2 separate regions of the Homo sapiens genome follow, and region 2 is linked to region 1. The links are contacts of gene promoters, found by promoter capture Hi-C in human tissues and cell types (Jung and others, 2019). All regions are on one chromosome and are shown on one strand. The core of a region is centred on a gene start or on the middle of the fragment in contact, and the rest is flanking DNA. Distances in the headings are between cores, read along the strand shown.

Region 1 (3,864 bases), core at 486-2,985:
AAGAGCAGAGACTACAACTCCATTATTTCTCATATATCTGATATACTGTAGTGCTTAAATAATAATTTCTCTCCTAAAATACTTTCTATATGATGCACCTATTTAAAGAATTAGTCATAAAACATAGAATGTAAATTTAATCAAGAAAATAAACATGCACCTAACCGCCGGAATAACAAGAAAAAAAAAATCTATAATGAAACCTGCCTACAGTTTTCATAGAGGCAAGCCAGTTAAGTCAGTTACTTGAGATGCGTTTAACTCTAAACTGACACAAAACTTGTGTTGAATTTGTTCCGCAAAACCTTGAAATTTGGGGTTATGTACTACAGAATTTGGCTTTTCTGGGTCCACCTTCCTGAGTGGGTTTAAATAAACTGTGAATAATTAAAACATAGGAAGGAAAAAAACACCACCTGTCCGTGCCTTTAACCAAGGCCTCAATCTATATATTATATGGCAAAATGCTAAAATAAAAGCTCATCCGGGACAAACCCTAAGCATGACACTGCCACTTAAGAAATACACTGCGTCTCTGAAGATTGCAATCCCCACTGTGAAGAAAGAACAGGTGCTGCACCCGACAACCCACTCAATCCTGCAGGACAAACCTCCTAGAACTGATAAATATGGACTCATTTAACCTTCCCAAATAAGTTGATACTCAAAAGCCGCCAGCTCGTCATTTGCACATCAAAAGGGAGTACAGCTGCACTCAAGCCTTTAACTGCCCTGCATCAGTCCCTCGCGGATCTTTGTGAGGGTCCACTCCCTGCTTTCTAGCCCGAGCAGCACTCAGAAAGAGCCCATAACGCACGGGCATCTTCCTCCCCACAAACCGCGACTCCAGGGACCGAGCTGCTGACGAAGGGAAGGTAGGTGTGGAGGGGAAACGACGGACACCTCCCACCCCCGCCCCCAACCCTTCTCCTTCCCTAGGCTTTGGCCCCTGCCCTAGGCAAGGATGCGCGACGCCGAGGGCAGCAGCGGCGCAGCTCCGCGTCCCGGCTGGAGAGGCGGGCGCCCCTCACCCTCTGCCCGCGCCCCCGGGGCTGCGCCAAGGCATCCGCCAGAGCGTCCCGGGGGCTCCCTCCCCACTTTTCCGAGAGCCGCTGGTTAACCGGCAGCAGTTGCAGCAACAGGCCCGGGTGAACGAGCAGGGACAGCCGCGGAGCCTCCTCAGATCCCGCGCGCAGCCCAGCCCAAGACCCCGAGGCGCGCGGGGCCCGGCTCCCAAAACGCCCCCTTACCCCAGGCGGGAGCAGAGGCGGTCTCCGCCGCTCCCCGTCGCAGCTGCCAAAGCCACAGCCCTCAGCCGCAGCTGCCCCACGATGGGGGAGTGGGAAGGGTGGCTGAGTGGAGGATGCTACTCCCGACCGAACGGAGAGGAAGAAACGGAAACAGGAACCGCCGCCGCCGCTTAACGGAGCCTTCGGCGCCACTGACTGAGGCAGAGCGCGAGGCGGCGCGAGCCGGGCAGTCGCTGACAGCGCGAGACCGAGAGCGAGCTGGGTCCAGGGCGCGCGACCCTGAGCAGTGCCGGCCCCATTCCGCGGGGAGACGAAGGGACGGGTCGGCTGGGGCCAGGCGGCGGGGGTGGGATGGGGAGGGGGCCTGGAGAGGAGGGAACCGGCTGCTCGGGTCGGCCGGAGATAACGCGCGCACGCGCCGGAGCGGCTCTGACAACGAGCGCAGGCGGGGAAGCCTCGGCCAGCGCCGGCGTGCGCGCGCGAATGGGGGAGCGCGCCCCTCGGCGTTCCTGGCTTCTGGGAGAGGGCGCGCATGCGCCGGCCGCTGCCACCTACGGCGACCCTGGCATGTGCCAGGGATTCTCCCCGCCCCCTTCCTCGCTGCGCCGGTGGAGAGCGTAGCAGCAGCATCCACCGCCTAGCAGAGCCGCGGGCCACAGCGGGACGGCACAGTTCCAGCAGGGCAGCGGCTGCGCACGCCGGCTCCGGCTCGCACACAGGCGTAGGCCGCCCTCTACCGCCTGAAGGCCGGAGGCTGAGCGGGGCGCGAGCGGATCCTGGATCCCGGGAGGAGACTCGCCTCCAGAGAATGCTGTGCTCCCTACAGCGCCGGGAATGGACCGGCCCGTGCCAGCTCAGTCGGCGGCCCTAGGGGGCACCCGCACTAGAGGTTTTGAAGCTGGCTCCTTGCTACTTTTAGGGGTGCGCGCTGCTGCTGCTCAGCCCCTGCAGCCCGCATTTGGCCGCTTGACTGCTGCTTCCAGCGCGATCCTACAATGGCATCGCTCCCCCAGGAGACTCAGCGAAGCCCTACTTTATCTTGTAAGAGCTGTTTCCACATTCACTCGAAGAGAAAGACCCCCCCCACGAGGGCCTGAGTTCGATGCCCGGCCTCTCCCGACCCGCGGCTGCGACAGCCCCTCTGAGGCGGAAGTTTATTTAGTACGGGAAAGAGAACAGCACGGGGAGAGGGGAGAGGCTTTGCCCTAGGATGCGTCCTACCCGCTCGGACTCGGAAAATTCCCGGCGCCCGCGATGCAGAGCAGTGGACCGAAGGGCTGCCCCAGAGCAGCCCAGACCGCCAGCTGAGCGGGAGGACCGGAGCGCGCCGCCCCAGCACACAAAGTAGTCGCGGGACGAGGGGTGCCGCCGAGGCCAATCAGAGCTGCGCGCCGCGTGAGTGGAGTGCGAGCCGGCCAATCAGAGGGCCGGAAGATGAGCTTCCCGTTCCAAACTCTTCCCTGTAGCCTTGGGACCCAGATCCCAAGCCTGGGGCGCTTTACGGTGGGAGAGCGAAATGGTGCCCTTAAGACAAGAATCATTTCTCTAGGCTTGGGCATTTTAAAGTACATACCGGGGATACTTATCCCAAAGCAAGTAGCGGCGGCCTTTTAGATGTTAAATATTAAAAGATCACAGAAAGGAGATTTAAGAGGCAGTGGCCTGTCAAGGTTGCAATCTGCCTAATATTCATAAATTCACATATTTATTGAGACCTTCTTATGTACCAGGAACTCTATCACAGATACACAAATAAGGTACTGCTGATTCAAAAGAAAATCCCTTGTCCTCAAGCAGCTCAGGTTGTGAGGGAGGCTTTCCTAGACCTTGAGACTCGTATTTATTGTCAGCTCTTTAAACAAAAAGCACTCTATGAAGTGCTGTACTTTACAGTCGTTTTTATGATTATCTCCCTGTGAGAAAAGAAAATTGAAAGGAAAGTAGAGTGACTTGTCCAAGATCACACAGAAGATGTACTAGCAGAGCCAGAATTATGTTCTAGCTCAGTTTGGGTGTCATCATTCAATAAAATAATTCAATAACAATTTGTAAATGCATGGATGCTCTCTCCCATGAGATTTCTGTACTAAACGTATAAGCAGGACAAAATTCTGGTATAAAAGTGACACACTTTGGTTGTTGGAAATGAACACAAATTTTAGACTTATGTGGGATTAAAGGTAAAAATCTTACCAGTCATACTTTAGATAATTTTTAGAAGTCAGAGGTGGGGTGGATATTTACTTCTTAGTTTAAACACAGCATTTTAAAAATATTTTAACAAGCAAGCGTAACTTTTTTTTTTTAAGATAGAAGAAGCAGGAAGGATCACTTAAGCCCAAGAGTTCCAGGCTGCAGTGCCACATCGTGCCTGTCAGTAGCCACTTCAGCCTGGGCAACATAGCAAGACCCTCATGTCTAAAATTAAAAATAAAATTTAAAAAAAAGAACTACTTCTAGTTGGTTAATAATCATGATAGTTTACACTGTATAATACTTTGAGATACCCAAGTACAAAGCTTTACATTTGCCTAAAAATTCCATTTTTGTCTGGTGTTCCATTTTTACTTCCAAAATCCTAGGAATTAAAGCACTTATTTTCCCTACCTCCTTC
Region 2 (3,864 bases), core at 701-3,200, 1.1 Mb before region 1:
ATTTAAATTAATACCATCAAGTAAAATTGGTACTTAAAAAATTATTATGTTTGTTCCTGTGGCTTAGATTCTAAGCCTTATAGGTATCCCTTGACACAATGTCATGTACTCCAGTTTGAGAAGAATGCCCCAAATTATGGTGACAATTCCTTCATCATATTTCATTTCCTTGCTGCTTTATTTTTCAAATTAAGAATTCTTTTTAAAGCATGGTAAATTTAATTACACTCTTTCGAAATGTATAAATACTGACAAAGCTACTGTTAAAATTGTTGGGGTTGTTTAAACACAAAATTTTCAAGAAGCTCTACTTAGTTAAAATTAATTTATTAAAAACAATTTAGTTTATAAATTCATTAAAGAACCTGGATAGAACTTCTACCTAGCAATACTTCATTAAACATTTCCTTTTTGAGAGGTCACTCAAAAAAACTTTTTAATGAAAGTGAGATTAGATGCCATTCATATTGACTACAGTCCCAATTACTTTTAAGTAGGTTAAACAATCTTTTCTTCTTCCTTGGTATTTATCTTCTCTGCCCAGATGTGAAGGAAGAAATCCTTTGTGGTTTCACTACTTTCTTTTTCAGGATCTTTTTTTAATACCTTTCAAATTCCAAATATGCTTCATTATTCTTCAATCCTATTTACAGAAACAGAGTAATAGATTTTATCTATTTTACTGATTGTTTTTAAAAACACCCTGTTCAACTTAGCCAGGAATCTATCACTAGCAAGATTAAAAATAGACTCTTATTCGTCACTTCCTCCCTAAAAACATACTATTGACTTTCCACTATATGCCTGCTTGAAGTCAAATAGTTGTATGTGTTTTTAATGTATTTAAAACTCTTATTGTATAGCAACTAATACTTTTTCAAGTCCTTGGCCAGTGATGATAGTATTAAGTATATTCACTTTGAAGTCAAATTGTCACATGTGTTTTTAATATAGTTAAAATTCTTATTGTATAGCAACTAATACTTTTTCAAGTCTTTGACCAATGATAATAGTACTAAGTATATTCATTAGAAATTAATTTAACATTTTCCTACTTTGCCTAAACATTTAATTCTCTAATACATTGCTTTCAACAAAAAATTCACAAAATAACAATCTATTTCAAGAAATAGGATTCCTTTCAAGTCATATAGATCAATATTAAAAACACATATTAAAAAAACAGCTAAGTTAGGCAGAACATACAGTTCCACTTAGTAGGATTTAATAGTAATTTGCCTACTTAATGACATCTATTCTCAAAACAGATATAATATGTATATATCCTTATCAATAAATGGGCTTTTCAGAAAATAATATTGACACATAATATACCAGAACAGGTTTCAAGAATGTAAAAAAGTAAATGCTTAAACAATTGCAGAGTTATGACAGTAGCATCTGCTTGGCTCAAGCTTGTTTTTTTAATACTTTGAATGACTTCATTTATGAATAACTGAAATACTCCCTACCTGTTACTGTAATATTTTGATGTTCTCATTTACAATTAGTCTTTTAACTAATCTCTAGTACCTAGTCTTATATTTGTTCCAGTATCTCTTACTGATTTCAAATCAACAGGTTAGTGCAATTAAAATGTATATTACTACAGCAAAAATATGATTTTTAAAAATGCCCTTTCCCAAAAATTTGTACCTTTTTCTCATTCATGCCCCTATTAGTGACAATTTAGGTAATGGATTATCATCTTCAGCTAAGTACCTTGGTATCAAACATTAGCTGTAGCGAACTAATACGATATTCAGTAGCCAATGGAATAATCTATATGATTCTACATTCTATACATACATGTAGTCATTATTTTCCTAGTAATGTTTCTGTAGAGCTTTTACAGGTAAAACTAGTATGCTGCTTTGATAAACAGCTTCTTTCAAAATAGAAAAAAGTATGTGAAGAGTGACATATTCCAGATATAGTGAGCCTGCTATGTAACTGGTAAGATTGACTTCAAGTATAATCACTACTAAAGCTGTTAGAAAAAAATTCTACATCTGCACCACATCCTGTTTCTAGTTTTCAAGTAGCAGATACTTGTTTATTTGCTTCATGTTACTCATTACCATATTACCTCTAGTCTCTTCTATAAATAGTAATACAAGTAGACAACTAATTAGACACAGAAATATTTCAAACTAGACCTTAGGTCACCAAACACCATGTGACTTTCATTTCTGTCAAGTCAACATAAGACAGTTTCGAACAAAGTTATTGTTGTTAGAGATGGACAATAATATTCAACATAAAATGTTTCCACATACAGCCTATTTTATATACATATATGTTCTCATTTTCCTGATTTAAAAAAAAGTATAATTAGAATATCCATGTTACATTAATTATCATAATCTCATTTTCAAGTGCTTAATAATTCAAAATAATGAAGCAAAAAAATGCTTCTGCTAAATATTTCCCTTTCTACCATTATTCTTTCATAAACCTAATACAATTAATTTATTTAATGAGAAGTCTCAACAGACTATGTACTAAATTTGCCAAATTTACAACTGAAATGAAGATAACGAAAACATCTAATGGATGAAAAGTTTCAAAGAACAAATATCTTTCAACAGGTAATAAAAAATGTCACAACGTCAATTAAAAACTTTAGAAATGACAATATGACTTCACAAAATACTAAGTAACATATTGTAAAATGTGTGTGTGGGTAGATCACACTTTCCACTATCTTTGTAAAATAGATATAGATAAAATACTTAAAATTAGTATTACGAAGCATGCCAAGGAGATTTTCTAAAAGAGACCCTCCACCTTTTAAGAGCCACAAATAATAATTTACAAAAACCACAGTTCAACTCAACTTTCTTAAGTATGAAATCACAATACTTCAGTTCAGTAAAGAATAATTCTACATAGTAAAACTGCAAAACCTCAAGTTCTAGAATACACAAAATTGTACAGCACAGCTTCATTTTTGTAAGTTCTTTCCCCCAAATCATATGGTATATCAGGCAAGACCACAGAAATTAAGCTGTTGATAATGAAACCCACTAGTTACAGACTTGAGAAAAATCAGTTTTCTTTCCTCTCCATCATAGTAGACAATATCTGTATCAACAACTTTCAAGAAAAAGCCTGAGTTACTTCTGACTTCAAATATACATGTTATCATCAAAACCTATTTTCCTCTATTATCACTTATTCCAAATCTGTAGCTGCCTTTTCATTCCTTCAGCTACATCCTTGTTCCTGGCCCTAGACTTTTCCCCCTAGACTACTGTACCTCATTCTCATGAGACGGCTTCCCCTGACTGTCTTTAATTCCACTGTCAATGTTAATGTTACCTTCTCTCTAACATTTTACCTATGCCACCTACCCATTCCACTTCAGCTTTTCAAGGCCTTTACATTGCATTTTTATTTAGCTCAGAAGCCTCATCATCAACTATATATTTATTTATAAAGTGGCTGCTGACTTTCAACTCCCCTTAAAATTGACAGTTTCTTCTTGACCTAGTAAATGTATTAAATTCTCCCTTCAGGTAGTCACATTCTCTCCTAATCCATCTGAATACGGAATTTCTTTTGCAGTTAACCCCAAACTCATAGGTAATGTATTTAGAAAAGTTTTGCACAATAATTACATACAATGTTTCTTCATTTGTTTGCGTATCAATGTTATCCATATTAGACTGTAGGGACACCAGATAAGGGCTGCATCTTTCAAAGCAGTCTGTACAACACCTATCTGCTATGTCACTTCACAAAGGTAAGTTGATTCGTTAAATGAAACTATTATTTAATGGAAAGCTTAAGTAGAAAATGTTCATTTTAAAAATGTTTCTACGGTTTAACTTTTAAACATCTATGGCCTTTTTTATTTCC

What was found. Contacts are between HindIII fragments. The study calls those that stand out against the background at their distance.
Region 2: a contact is called between a fragment that was not itself captured here and the fragment with the promoter of FUT8 in region 1, in 1 of the 25 tissues and cell types used here (dorsolateral prefrontal cortex).

The regions. Positions count from the first base shown.
Region 1 is chr14:65,410,601-65,414,464 of GRCh38, reverse strand. FUT8 (fucosyltransferase 8) reads right to left here and starts at 1,735. Exons shown (of 11, transcript NM_001371533.1): 1 at 1,251-1,735. FUT8-AS1 (FUT8 antisense RNA 1) reads left to right here and starts at 1,848. Exons shown (of 1, transcript NR_024334.1): 1 at 1,848-3,864. RefSeq lists enhancers at 430-994, 2,237-2,556 and silencers at 917-1,106, 1,117-1,236, 1,537-1,696. The HindIII fragment of the contact is 6,462 bases long and covers 1,316-3,864 here.
Region 2 is chr14:66,510,305-66,514,168 of GRCh38, reverse strand. The region is part of intron 1 of GPHN (gephyrin); the gene reads right to left. Among named protein-coding and RNA genes, the nearest start is that of GPHN, 4.1 kb to the right of the region's middle. The HindIII fragment of the contact is 6,277 bases long and covers 1-3,864 here.